Regions from separate parts of the Homo sapiens genome. Here all the other regions are linked to region 5. Evidence: promoter capture Hi-C in 16 types of primary human blood cells and fetal thymus (Javierre and others, 2016). All regions are on one chromosome and are shown on one strand. Each heading gives the region's core, a stretch centred on a gene start or on the middle of the fragment in contact. The rest is flanking DNA. Distances are from core to core; before and after follow the strand shown.

The links. Contacts are between HindIII fragments. The CHiCAGO score rates a contact against its expected background, and 5 or more counts as called.
Region 1: a fragment that was not itself captured here is called in contact with the fragment with the promoter of FAM83A-AS1 in region 5 in 5 of 17 cell types (fetal thymus, naive B cells, total B cells and 2 more); the score reaches 7.3 in fetal thymus.
Region 2: a fragment that was not itself captured here is called in contact with the fragment with the promoter of FAM83A-AS1 in region 5 in 12 of 17 cell types (naive CD4 T cells, total CD4 T cells, total CD8 T cells and 9 more); the score reaches 12.9 in naive CD4 T cells.
Region 3: a fragment that was not itself captured here is called in contact with the fragment with the promoter of FAM83A-AS1 in region 5 in 1 of 17 cell types (total CD4 T cells); the score reaches 6.2 in total CD4 T cells.
Region 4: a fragment that was not itself captured here is called in contact with the fragment with the promoter of FAM83A-AS1 in region 5 in 7 of 17 cell types (total CD4 T cells, non-activated CD4 T cells, naive CD8 T cells and 4 more); the score reaches 6.8 in total CD4 T cells.

What each region holds. Positions count from the first base shown.
Region 1 is chr8:122,656,477-122,659,288 of GRCh38, forward strand. No RefSeq gene overlaps it. Among named protein-coding and RNA genes, the nearest start is that of LINC01151, 36 kb to the right of the region's middle. The HindIII fragment of the contact is 270 bases long and covers 1,369-1,638 here.
Region 2 is chr8:122,680,257-122,683,065 of GRCh38, forward strand. The region is part of intron 2 of LINC01151 (long intergenic non-protein coding RNA 1151); the gene reads right to left. Among named protein-coding and RNA genes, the nearest start is that of LINC01151, 12 kb to the right of the region's middle. The HindIII fragment of the contact is 4,320 bases long and covers 1-2,809 here.
Region 3 is chr8:123,723,876-123,726,575 of GRCh38, forward strand. All of the region lies in intron 1 of ANXA13 (annexin A13), which reads right to left. The region is part of intron 1 of LOC105375739 (a long non-coding RNA gene); the gene reads left to right. Among named protein-coding and RNA genes, the nearest start is that of ANXA13, 12 kb to the right of the region's middle. The HindIII fragment of the contact is 2,177 bases long and covers 210-2,386 here.
Region 4 is chr8:123,759,357-123,762,168 of GRCh38, forward strand. All of the region lies in intron 1 of LOC105375739 (a long non-coding RNA gene), which reads left to right. Among named protein-coding and RNA genes, the nearest start is that of FAM91A1, 7.7 kb to the right of the region's middle. The HindIII fragment of the contact is 973 bases long and covers 786-1,758 here.
Region 5 is chr8:123,201,389-123,204,088 of GRCh38, forward strand. It overlaps FAM83A-AS1 (FAM83A antisense RNA 1), which reads right to left and starts at 1,355. Exons shown (of 3, transcript NR_024479.1): 1 at 820-1,355; 2 at 256-594; 3 at 1-66. The region is part of intron 3 of FAM83A (family with sequence similarity 83 member A); the gene reads left to right. The HindIII fragment of the contact is 13,090 bases long and covers 1-2,700 here.

The DNA.
Region 1 (2,812 bases), core at 254-2,753, 540 kb before region 5:
AAAGTAATGAGAAATATGTCCATGAGGTGGGGTACCAGCATCACTGGGATGTTCAGTGGTGGTCATCCTCTGTGGGTCACAGCTAATGCTATTACAGACCCCCTACTAGCAAAGGGACTGATTGGGTTTCAAAATAATGAAAGCCACGTAGCAATGTTGAAGTATCAAAAGCAAAGTTGTCACAATTACTGTAATGAGTGACAAGGTTAAAATGTCAGCCATGGGCCAGGCATGGTGGCTGACACCTGTAATCCCAGCACTTTGGGAGGCAGAGGCAGGCAGATCACGAAGTCAAGAGATTGAGACCATCCTGGCCAACATGGTGAAACCCCATCTCTACTAAAAATACAAAAATTACCTGGGCGTGGTGGCATGCACCCATAGTCCCAGCTACTCAGGAGGCTGAGGCAGGAGAATCTCTTGAACCCCGGAGGTGGAGATTGCAGTGAGCTGAGATCATGCTGCTGCACTCCAGCCTGGCTACAGAGCAAGACTCCATCTCAAAAAAAAAAAAATGTCAGCCAAGGGCCTGATACACAAAGTTCTAGAGGTATTTGGAGTGAGAAAAAAAAATGTGTGTAGCGTTTATGAGAAGATCAAATAAGAAAAATTACTGCATGAAAACTCTAGTGTTCTATGGCAGTGGTCCCCAACCTTTTTAGCACCAGGGACCAGTTTTGTGGAATACAATTTTTCCATGAACAGGGACAGGGAATGGGGGAGGAGTGGGTATGGTTTCGAGATGAGACTGTTCCACCTCAGATCATCAGGCATTAGATTCTCATAAGGAGTGTGCCACTTAGATCCTCACATGTGCAGTTCACAATAGGGTTCATGCTCCTATGAGAGCCTAATGCTGCCACTGATCTGACAGGAGGCAGAGCTCAGGTGGTAATGCTCACTCGCCCGCCACTCACCTCCTGCTGGGCAACCCAGTTCCTAACAGGCCATAGACTGGTACGGGTCCAAGGCCCAGGGGTTGGCAACCCCTATTCTATGGCAATTCCAGGCTATTCACAGCAAAGAACAACACACCATGCAAAAAAAGTCCCTCACATGCTAGTAAAGATGGAGCCTATAACCATGGACATCAAATGATCATGCAGCCATTATGAGCTGGGTTCCCATCGTGAGCTGGATTCCCATTATGAGCTGGATTCCCATCATGAGCTGGGTTCTACCACACCCAAGAAGTCATAAGCCAAGGCAACCCTGCAGCAATCCACTGCCACATGGAGGCAGCACATCCATAATCAGGCACTGACAGGGTCAGAGGGCATAAATAAGCCACACAAGCAGGTGGCCCAGTCCTCAGCTACACAAAGGTGCATTAATAAATGGACTATAGCTGTGGGCAACTGGGGCTCAAGCTTCCTGGGTATCCCCCAAAAGCCTCTATAGAATACACCTCAGAAAGTTTTCATCAGGGGTAAAGAAACTGGGGTATTTATCCACCAATTGCCTGCTTTCTTTGTTTGAAGATTTCTCCCAGGAGTTAACTCCCTGGCACTTCAGATCTCTTCCCCAATCCCAATACATGGGCTGAGCATGATGTTTCCACCAGAGAACACTCTCAGGCAGCGAGACAAAGATGCCTGAGTTAGAATTCCCTTGGCCTGGATGAAAACTGTCCACCAAAGCTTCTGGTGACCTCCTTGGTGGATGAATGCTGATAACCAAAAAAAAAAAAAAAAAAAAAAAAAAAAACCTCTGTAAAATATTGAAGGAGGTTTATTCTGACCATGGCCTGGGAAACAGTCTCAAGAAAGCTTGAGAAAGTGTACCCAAGGTGACTGAATTACAGTTTAGTTTTATACATTTTAGGAAAACAGAAGTTACAGGCAAAGACATAAATCAATACATGTAAGGTATACATTGATTTAGGCTGGAAAGGCAGAACATCTCAAAGACGGGGCTTTCAGGTCATAAGTGGGAGATAGATAGATGATAGATAGATATCTCCCATATAATATACATATATCTCTCTCTGCTGTTTTTTTTCATATGGATATATGTGAAGAGAGGGAAAGATTTTTAAATCAAGTAGCAATAGGATATTACAGTCCATAAAAGGTAAAATTTGCCAGTGTATACACTCTCAAAATTTTGTCAAGATCGCCTCCTCACAAATATTAAAGGGGCACTTAACAAATATCAGTAGGGCAGCATTTCTTCTTATTTACCCAACATAAATAGCACTTGCTCTTGCTACTGAGCAATCAGCTTGTTAAAAGATTGTATCATAGCAACATTCAGCCAGAGAACTTTCCAGAGCGTTGAGACATCCTTCTGGGTGGCTACAGTTGTCCTAGCAGCAAGATGGAACAGAATAAAAACTCCCAGCTGAGTGATTAGTGTACTGGGCCTTAGAGACCCAAATCTGCCACAAACTGGATGCATGACCAAGTAGTTTGGACTATATCCATTCCTTCATTTATTTAACAGATATTTACTGAGCATCTCCTAGGTGTCCAGGCTCAGAGCCACTGTGCAGGGGACAATCTCCAAAGTCTTTTTCAAGTCTAACTGGAGACTCAGAAAGGCACATTTGTAGAGATATGGAAACATTTATCAAAATCAGCATCTCCCAACATAGCCAAACCCTTGATCCTCTTGTAAATGACCCCCTTGCACATCATCCTTCTTTGTAAAAAGATAGCAGTTGTTCTGAGTCCTCTTCTTGCCCACGGAGAAGAGTTCACAACGGAAATGGGAAAGGATGGAAGTGCGTTTGTCTGGGGCCGCTGAGTCAGCCAGACTCCTCCCAGCTCCTAGTCCAGTCTCTCCTCTCTTCTCCAGAGAGGCACGCCCT
Region 2 (2,809 bases), core at 286-2,785, 520 kb before region 5:
ACAATTCAGTTATTGAAAAAACTTTATGTTTAGAACAATGCGGAGAGATGACTCTACTGTTTCAATTGTAAATTTTATGAAATTGAAATACAGATCAAATATTTTCTATGAAAATTTAGAGTTCAGATTGAGATGTGCCATAAGTATAAAATACATACCAGATTTTGAACACTCAATATCAAAAAATGCAAAGTATCTCATTCATAATTATTTATATTGATTACATGCAGAAATGACGTTTTAGATATCTTAGCTTAAATAGAATATATTATTAAACTCAATTTCACCAGTGTCTTTTTTCTTTGTTTAATGTGGCTACTAGAAAATGTTTAATTAATGTATAGTTTACATTACATTTCTATTGGACGGCACTGTTCTAGGCCATTTCCCAGTTGTCCTTTGCATTGGGAAATGGGCCAGAAATTTTGCTGCTTCTGGCAGGCTGCCCTCCTAGAATGAACAGGATGGTATCCTCAACAGAAACTGCTCAGCTTTCTGAGGCTCGGGAGATGAAAGGAGAGAGAAAGGAGGCGCATTGGCAGGAAGAGCTGGGCCTGACTTCCTTGGAAAAGCCAGCCCTGGTGCCAGTCAGTGCCCCACCCACCCTGGGATCCCTGTGGGCCCACAATGGGCCCTCTCTTGGTAATCCAGGGATGATAAACACATGGTGCAGGCTCTCCAGGGACACATGGCTCACAGAGGGATACATGCAGAGGCAGGATGTGCAGAAGCAGCTATTATAATTCACCAGAGAAGGCCGGGAGTTCTCCAAAGTTGAGGTGGCACTGAACAAGATTGGCAGGGATTCAGACCTCTCTCCAGCTGGCCTCTGTAGTGGCTCTGCAGAGTCTAGTGGTGACTGAATCTACTGCTAAGCCAGATGCATAAACCTGGGCATCAGAACCCCTCTCTGAGCCTTGGTTTCCACCCATAAAATGAGAGGGTTTACAGCCTCTATTTTAAAATGCGGTAACTCAACACAACTGCCTTTTTCTCTACGTAGCATTGGCAGAGTCATGGGGCTCCAATCAGGCCCAAGGCCAGGCCTTTATTTTTCTCCTAGAGAGCTCACTCAGAAGTTCATTTCCATGCCCCGTGCCCAAGGCCAGGTCTCCTTGAAATGCAGCCAAAAGCTCATTAAATGTACACAGAAGGGAGAGCCACTGGGACGTGAGGGCCTGCTCTGCTCAGCATGACCAGCGCCGGGTGTGTAGCTTTCTGTGACCCATCTCCTCCGGCTGCATTTTCCCCACCTCTGGGGAGCACCTCTGTTCCAGAAGGCTCTGAGTTGGAAACACACAGGATGAATTTGGGCACATGTCCTCAGTCACAAATGCCAACAGAATTGGAATATCCAGCAAAGTGCTTTCCAGCCTCCTGGTGCCCAGAGACCTGGGAAGCCAGAGAGTGGAGAGTCCAGGGTAGGAGGTAGAAAGAGCTGTGCAGTGGAAACCCAGAAACCCAGCTCCAACCCTGACTCAGCCAACCGCTAACTCAGTGCCGTGGACAAAAGAATAATATCAACGTGCTCATGTGCATGTGTGTGCATGTGTGTGCGTGTGTGTGCATGTGTGTGCGTGTGGGCATGTGTGCATATGCATGTGTGTGTGTTTGCATGTGTGTGTGCATGTGCGTGTTTGTGTGTGTGTGCGTGTATGTGTGTGTCCCCATGTGCCGGGCCCAGAAAGGAAATATCACTGTGAGTAAAGAAAGAAGCCCTTGTCCTTCTGAGGCTTCCACTCAATTATAAGACAAGATGCACAAAAGTAGTGTAGATAAAGTGCAATGGCAAAAAGTAGATGACAACTTTACCTCCAACTACAGGGACTGGGACTGATTTCCTGGCAAGGAGGCATTTGGGAGAACAAACAAGTGCGAAGTGCCCAGGAGGAGAGGCCAAGGAGGTTTAAAGGCGTGTTCTCAGAACACCAAGTTTAGTTGACGTCTACCTCCTCTCAGCAACTTTCTACAACAGTGAGTTGACTCCTCCCTATTCTCTGAGACATAAAGCTCATTCCAAACGGTTCAAGGCTTGACTGTTCATACTTATTGTTGTTGCATTTATATTACCATCAAGAGCATTTGTGATGATCTGCTACCAGGGTGCTTAGTGCGTGTCTTGTCTCTCTAATAGCACAGTCAGGGAATAGGTCCAATGCTTTCTCTTATTCCCTGCCAGCCTGCCGTGCAATCTCTGGGTTGGAAGGAACCCTGGAAATCATGCTATCCAGTTCCCCATCTTCTCTTTCCCGGAGGCCTCTGCAAGACTGACAGGCATACCGTCTGCCTCTTTATTCTGTGTTTGTGCAAAACAGTGTGTTAAAACAGGTTCTGTTTTAGTATCAGCCGAGGCTCCAAGACACCAAGAGTGACTGCACCCCATTTCTAAGGAAAAGTGAAAGACCACAAAGACTTACACAGGAGGTAGTCAGAAACGGGTTTTAGGGCCCCAATCTATCCACCACCCGAACTTTAAAGAATTTGGAGGCCGGGCGCGGTGGCTCACACCTGTAATCCCAGCACTTTGGGAGGCCCAGGCGGGTGGATCACAAGGTCAGGAGATCGAGACCATCCTGGCTAACACAGTGAAACCCTGTCTCTACTAAAAAAAAAATTACAAAAAAATTAGCCGGGCGTGGTGGCGGGTGTCTGTCGTCCCAGCTACTCGGGAGGCTGAGGCAGGAGAATGGCGTGAACCCGGGAGGCGGAGCTTGCAGGGAGCCGAGATCGCACCACTGCACTCCAGACCCGGTGACAGAGCGACACTCCTTCTGAAAAAAAAAAAAAAAAAAAAAAGAATTTGGAGCTG
Region 3 (2,700 bases), core at 48-2,547, 520 kb after region 5:
TTGTAGGTACTTGGTAAATGTTATCTTCTTTTCCATGGGAGGAAGAATCTTCTTCCTTTGTATGTTACAGAATACACTGAATGCCTTTTCTTTGCGTCCTGGTCTTGCTCCCAGTTTGTATTAATGTCAGAGTCAGTGGCAGTAGTAGGGACAGAAGAATGGAACAGGAAACTTATCTGGATAGAAATCTTGAGCTGAGAATAGTGTCAAGCTTTCCAAAATGATGAAGCAGAGAGAATGAAAAGAGGAACAGTAAATTTAACCAAGGTGTCTGGGAGGGCTCAATCAGACCTCAGTTGGAGAAATAACAGGAATCACAAATGAAAGTGAAGTCCTAAGACCTTCGGGTGTGAAACAGTTTGAGCTAAATAGAGTTTGGGGCTCTTAGAATTTAATACCAAATGGAGAAAATAATGGACTCTGAGGAAAGTGACCTTGCCAAGATATAGATTAGTAGCCTTTCAACCCGGATTGCACTCAAAATCATTTGGGATCCCAGTCTGATCCTATGAAATCAGAATCTCTGAGGTACAGGGATATATCAGGTATAAATATTTCTAAAACTCCCCAGACAATTCTAACAAGCAGCCAGGGTTGAGAACCGTTAGTCTGAGAAAAATTAGAAACTTCCGCTGTTGATATCCCGGTAAAGGAGGAAGACAACTTAGAAATGTGCTGAAGGTTTACACAAGAAAGAAATCCTTGACCTTATCCAAGATGCTAAAGATAAAGGGAAGAGGTTTAGCATGAAATCTTAAAGTGAAAATTGAACCCAGGTTTTTCCAAATGGGTGACATGGAACACTGAAAGCATTAAAGCCATTGGACCTCCAGCTAGGAAAGGAACTCCTTTTAAAATTCTCTCCCAACTCTTCTGATTAAGTCTTTGCTTAGTGATAGTGGATCTTTCACACTCGTCTAATCCAGGGGTTGGCAAACTGCAGACTGAGGACCATATCTGGCCCATTACTTATTTTTGTAAATAAAGTTTTATTGGAACACAGCCAACCCATTCATTTACATTTGGCCTATGGCTTCTTTCACGCTACAATGGCAGAGTAGTTACCTACTTGCACCAGAGGTTCTGTGGCCCACAAAGCCTCATTATTTACTTTGTGGACTCCCACTGTATCCCATGTGGACCATGTAAACAGGTCCTTTTTTAGTCAGAGGATAGGACCTTACCCTTCAGCTGGCAACATCAAATTTAGTTAGAATTTAATACATTCTTTTTGCTTTCATTTAGTTATCTATATTTATGTCAACTGACATTAATTTTCCATTTATGGTATCAGTATAAAATTTCCTTTTAAGATTAATTTATATTAAAAAGTGCGTATTTAAAAATAATTAATAGAATAATTAGTAGAAGAGGTAACCCATATATTTGGCAACAATCATGAAGGTTGTACTTAAATCTGAAGTTTGGGAGACATTGAATGTATCCAATCCCATCATTTACAAATAAAGAAACTGAAGCCTGGTTGTTAAGTCACCTGCTCAGGGTCACCTTATGGAAACATCCATCTCCTATCTCTCTCAGAACAATGTTCTTTTACCTCTAACCGGTTACTCATTTGCACTTTGAAGCCAGTTAGTATGAATGCAAATTATTGTACTTTTAACATTCATGAATTCAGAGCCAGAAAATATCCTGGTGACATTTCCACAGACATGGTTAGTAGAGATTGATGAGCAATTTGAAACAAAATAGAGGGGCCATTCACATCTGAAGCATGAATCTTGGGTGATTAGTGACATATTGGTTTCATTAAGTCATAAAACTACCCAACAGAAAAAAATATATTTGGCAGTATACCCTGTTGGGTATATTTAAGCACAGTTTGAATACGAATATTTGGTATTTCATCATGTAGTTATTGCTGTTTTCATTAGGATTCTCCAGGATCTCACACCGACTAAAAGCAAGCCAATTCCTTCATGCCTAGAACCTCTTCCCACATTAGAAGTTTATTAATCTGCGGGGGTTGATCAGAGAGCTGTTGGGAAAGTGTGTTAGGAAACTTGAGCTCTGCCCACCTTAGTAGGGTGCTGGAATGTTACAGAGTTGTTCATTGCTGTTGATACCTCCTTTCCAAGATGCAGTATTACAGTGACTTACATGATGACTAAGTGTTTGGCTATCACTCTAAAGGGGCAGAAATATTTGTATCATTTAACAACTAAAACTAAAACTAGAAAAACATCCATTTGGATCACAGCTCAACATGATTTGCTTGCATATGTTGACTGTATGTTCTGAAAAATGAGTTCAGTTCTTTAGATTAAAACATGACCTTTCTATTACATTTGGGATTGCTTCCATGTTGGCATTTCAGCACCTTTTAATGAAGATTGGTATAGTTAGGTCATTTTCCAGAAAGACAAGCTTCCTTAGGCTATGCCATCTGGGTTACACGTGTTGATGTGATATTTACTTATCAAAGGTGACTGCAGGGCTGGGTAGGAGTTAGGAGACCTGACTTGAAGGCCCTTCAATATGCTGTGCCTTAAACTGGTGGGCACCATTGTACCTGAAGGTACTGATGGTATCCTCAGGAGTGTAAACAATGTGGGCATCCTGCCATGCACTGAGCTGTGGTATAGGGAGTCCAAGTGGGGTAGCCCTTTTGGGGGCTACACCCAAACAGAGGAGAGGTGAGCCAATCAGCTCCTGAAGGTTCCAGCCTGTGTCTTTCCA
Region 4 (2,812 bases), core at 22-2,521, 560 kb after region 5:
CTGCCCCCAGTTGAGAACTACTGGTTTAGGGAGTCTGAAGTGTCTTAGTGAAGAGTCCATTAACAATCATCAGCATGATGCAATGGTGTGACCAATTTGCTCTGGTATGTTACCTTGTGTATTCTCTCACAGTACCATGTCATTATCTGTTAATAGCAGGTGTGCTTAGCTTCTCATATCAGCAATAAATATATGGTACCAGCTTGTACCAGCTATTGGTTTTCCATGCAATGTGTGGTGAATCTTTAACTTTATGGCTTACTTATCAATGGAACAATAAGCTTCTGATTTCCCTTGAATCCAGTGGCCACACACGGAGCAAGAAACTCTAAAGGTCCTCAATCTCTTTAAATATTTAAGCCAGCCCACATTTCTTTCCCTGACTTGGTGTTTTGTCACATTTGGAATTTTTTTTCGTTCTATGTAAACATAGGACAGATTATAAACTTAGCACACTCTCCATATTTAAATATGTTCATCAGGATTTTAAAGACAAGAATTAAAACAATGATCATGATATAATAATATATCATAAAACACTGAAGAGCTAAAAAATAAAAGGATAAATTATCACGTAGGTGGGGCTTTCTGGTCATTGACACGAGTCTAGCAAGAATGTCGCTTTATTCTTTTTATTTTAGTGTACCTTTTTCTTCCCTTACATTGCCCATATAGTCTCTGGAAGCCAAAACACCTTTTCCTCCAGTCCCTTCAGATCTATCCCGTGTTAAAACCCAGCATAAAAGCCACCTCTTTCATAATTGCTTCTAGAGGCCTTAATGAGAAGCTTCCTTTCCTTCTACTAGCATCTTGTACCAATCATTACTTTCTACTTTATATTCCACTGGGTTATAGACCTGGATTCTCAAGCCTACTAGACTGTAAATTATTTAAGGGTAAAGATCATGCCTTGTTCATCTCTGTGTCCCCAAATGCTTAATGTAGCACCTTGCACATAGAAATAGTTCAGTCCTGAAATAAGGTATCCTTTTGTTAAATTAATCCTTCTCAGATTAATTTCAGATTTCTAGAATCACAAAATCAATATTTGGCAGCAAGGCATAATCAGTTACAAACACTATTTTGTTGTTGGACTCTGAGAATCAGGGTTATGGGGGGATCTCAGTGTCAACCTCTCCATCCTCTTCCCTTATTTACAGAGTAAGAGATTTTCCCCTGGGATTTTTCTTTAGCCCTAAATATTTAACTGCTTTCTGTCTCTTTCACACTTGAGAATTAATCACAATCTTTGGTATTCACTTCAGTGGTGGAGTCCATGAAGCAATCTTTAGCCCTATACTCTTTGTAGCCTGGGTCAGAATTATCTGCCTAAAATAATCCCACCAAAACTTTGATTCTTTAAAAGATTCACAGTTCCCATCAGAGATAGGCTCTTCAGTAAGTCATAGTTTTGGTCCTCTTGGTTATTTCTCTTTCTGAGTGATCCGTGAAAGCCTGCTTTCCTTCACCTCATGACAGGCTCTGCTGTGTGACAGCCAGGGATGCTAATGTGTGGATACTGATGCTATCTTAGCAGGCAGACAGCGAGGGATTATCACTCCAGTTCAGTCTTGCTCCTTATCTCCCATGTGCGGAAAATAGGTCTTGCTTCAGACTAAAGCTGGTAGTTGTTTTGGGTTGAAAATGTTCATATGTGACTAATCATATACACAAAGAAAATGTGGCTGCTTTATTTCCTGAAGTGGACCTAATCATTCTTACACTGTCATTCCACTGGCTAGTGGTGGCAGTCGGGGAAGCTTAAATCTATCAATTGAAAGGCTCTTATTTGGCCTCTTTCTGTTTAAATATAGTCATCTCACTGGGAGTATGGTTTCTACTGGAGATGCTCTCTCTTGAAGATTTCAACTTCCTCCCCTGTTTCCCCCCAAGATATGCCAATGGGAGCTAAAAGAATTCAGAAAACCCTTTCTCAACAAAGCCTGGCTTTTAAGCCTACTGTCTTGCTCAGACTCAAAAATCCTAGTTTCTATTTCAAAAGCTGAACTTTGACTTTGTCTTGGGCTTTCTTTGTAATAATCCTTATTTTCTCAAAGGCAAATAGATGTCTCTGGCTTCTTGATTAATCTTTTTCTGACTTTTGTTTTCCTGGGCCTACTTTTACCAGGTACACAGTTCAGCTAGCTTTCTATATCCCTAAAAAAAAGAAAAGAGAAATAAAATATTATCCATTAAGGCTATATCATTTCTAAAAACATGTGGTAATTAATGACTTTATTAAATCTAAAAGAAAGAGAAGTCAACATTTCTGTTCTTCAGAGAGAAGAAATGCTTACGTAGACCTGGCCAAGAAATAGCCAATTTATGTTTTTCCAGGATTAGTTGTAGTTGTAGCCAAGAAAGTGTCCTATCTCTCACTCACATCTTGTTTATAGAGGTCACGAAACAATCCTACTATACTTGAACTTAATCCCTAATCACAGTTTACACTAGTAGACAAATTTGTATTTCTTGTTAGACAGTTAAGAGATTACGTGTTGCTAAAGGTGTAAAGTTTGAATGGTGTAATGTAGAAGGAAACAAAAACAATTTCATTTTAGCCAAGTTCCAAGGCATTGTAACAATATACCCAAATAAGCTAAAAAGATCCAAGTTGGCCCGGTGCCATCTGTGTAACACATACTCAGATAATTTCCATATTGGTCCAATAGTGTGTAATTCTTTATTTATCTCCCAGTTTTCCTGATTGTTATCAAGGGGTAGAGAAATTATTTCCTTGGTCTACATGAATGTTGAATAGATGGCTGCTTACTTCTTACACTAAAAGCTTAGATTGGGTAATTGTTTTGCA
Region 5 (2,700 bases), core at 105-2,604:
AGCCGGAATACATGCAGGGCCGTCTGTGTTTACTGTCATTCCTGAGAGCTGTGGAGGAGCCAGCTCCTGGAGGGAGAACAGGACACCAACAGTGATTTTGCCCTTGACATTCAAAGGTGACCTGCTTACTAGCCTTTCAGGGGATCATCTTCACTGGGACCAGTCTCCCCTTAGAGTTGTTTCCAGTAAAAACAAAAACAAACAAAGAAAAAAAACCAGAAGAGGCCATTTATCCCTTTCTTTTAGCCCCGCTACCTGGGGGCTTCAGATATTTTGGCCCCTTCTTCTGGTTGTATATGGTTCTCCCAAACTGAAGAGCCCTGCTTCCTCCGCTGAGGCTAGAGGGCTGAGGTTGTGCATTTCAACACTGAAGGGCTGGTTGAGGGTCTGACCCCAGCATAGGTGCCATGCCAGGGCCATCAAGAAAAATTGCTGAGTGGCCAGAGTGGATTGGTGTGTGTGCTCTGAGATCAGCAGGAGCTAAGGAAGTGCTCTGGGGTCAGCTGAGAGGGAGCCACCACTTCTGCCTAGCAGGTCCAGGAGGTCGGTGCCATTGGCTGGAGTTGGGCCTTGAAGGATGAGAATTATTCAGCCCTGGTGGGGAAGAGGCAGGCAAAATTGGGCATTGGGAACAGGATGGGGAACAACAGCAAGACATCATCCTGGCTTCTAATTGGCCTCCTGCCCCGCCCCCACTGCCATCCATGGGTTTTCTCTCCCAGGAACAGAAACACAAACCAGATCAAACCACTTTAAAATCCTTCAGTACTCGCCACTGCTCCTAGGAACAACAACAACAACAAAAATCTACATCCTTACCAGGGCCTCTATCTCAGTAGGATCCCCCCACTCCTCCACTGTGTTGGAGCCACACTGGCCGCTTCCTCAGTCTTTCATGCTCTTTCGAGTCGCAGGGCCTTTGCACTTGCTGTTCATGCCCTCCGTCGGAGAGCTCATTCCTGCTGTCTCTATCTTGCTTACTCTTTATCTTGTAGGTGGCAGCTTCCAGATCATTGCCTCAGAGACCTCTGATCACCACCCCGAGCCCTCTTATCCTCTATGGCTTCACTCCCATCATGATTTGGAATTATTTATTTGTGAACTTGATTAGCCGAGATTGTAAATGACATGAGGTCAGGGACTGGACTGGGTATGTTTTCTTCTCTGTTGCTTTCCTGGCATGAAGTACAGTAAATACAGCACCTGATACATTATACATGGCCACAAATATTTGTTGAATGAATGAATAAAAGCACATTGGGTTCTGACCATTCAGTGTCCTGAAAGAATGCAGTTTTTCAAACTGTGCCTCACCATCCATTAGCGGGGTGTGAAATCAATTTAGTAGATGATGTCTAGCATTTTTTTTAAATGACACGGAATAGAATAAAAATAATCAGACCACGCTGAGGTAAAGGATGTTCTGGAAATTATTGTGTGGTTATGTACTTGTGGGTCATGATGTTAAATGTGCTTTTCCAAGAATAGCCAAGATAAATCCGAAAAAGAAAAACAAGCAGGGACGACTTGCCCTACCAGAGTTCAGAACTTGTCATGAAACTGCAGTAATCAAGACAATGTGTCATTGGAGGAGGGACAAATTGACACACAGAACAGAAAGCTCAGGCACATATTCACACACCACAGGGCATGACAGAGCAGTGGGGAAAGGAGGAACTGGAAAAAATAACTCCCCGTATGTAAAATGGGATTACTACCCACCATGCACGCATTTGTTTACAAATCGACTTGCAATAGTTGAAAAGAATTTGAATGTTGAAAATAAACTAAAACTCTCAGTAGATTTCTTTAAAAGGAAAACATACACACATTAAAAAAAAAAAAGCAGTGACCATAAAAGTTTGCTTAATCTGACTATATTACAATTAAGAATGTTGGTTCATTGAAAGACATCTTGGCTGGGTGCGGTGGTTCACATCTGTAATCCCAGCACCTTGGGAGGCAGAGGAAGGTGGATCACCTGAGGTCAAGAGTTCAAGACCAGCCTGGCCAACATGGTAAAATCCTGTCTCTACTAAAAATACAAAAATTAGCCGAGTGTGGTGGCACGTGCCTGTAGTCCCAACTACTCGGGAGGCTGAGGTGGGAGGATCACTTGAATCCAGGAGGCAGAGGTTGCAGTGAGCTGAGATCAAGCCACTGCACTCCAGCCTGGGGGACAGAATGAGATCTGTCTCAAAAAAAAAAAAAAAAAAAAAAGTAAGAAAAGAAAAGAAAAAAAGAAAGACATCTTAAAGGAAGTGAAAAGTCAGTTACAAACTGGAAGCAGCTATTCAAGATGCACACCCCTGACAGAGATTAGTGCTGAGACTCACAAGAGCACAAGAGCACAGCAGAAAAGTGGGTGGGAGACATAAGCAGGCGTTTCACCAAAGAGGCAACATATGGTTAAAAAAACAAAACAAAAAATTAGCCAGCATTGTTGTAACCCCAGTTACTTAGGAGGCTGAGGCAGAAGAAGCGCTTGAACCCAGGAGGCAGAGGTTGCAGTGAGCCGAGATCACGCCACTGCACTCCAGCCTGGGCAACAAGAGTGAAACTCCAACTCAAAAAAAAAAAAAAAAAGGACAAAAAAAAATTCTATAATTATGGAAAAAGGAAAGCAAGGGCGTTATGATCACAGGATTCATGATGTGCTGAGTTCTAGTTCAGGGGTCCTGGGAAAGGGATGCAAGAAGG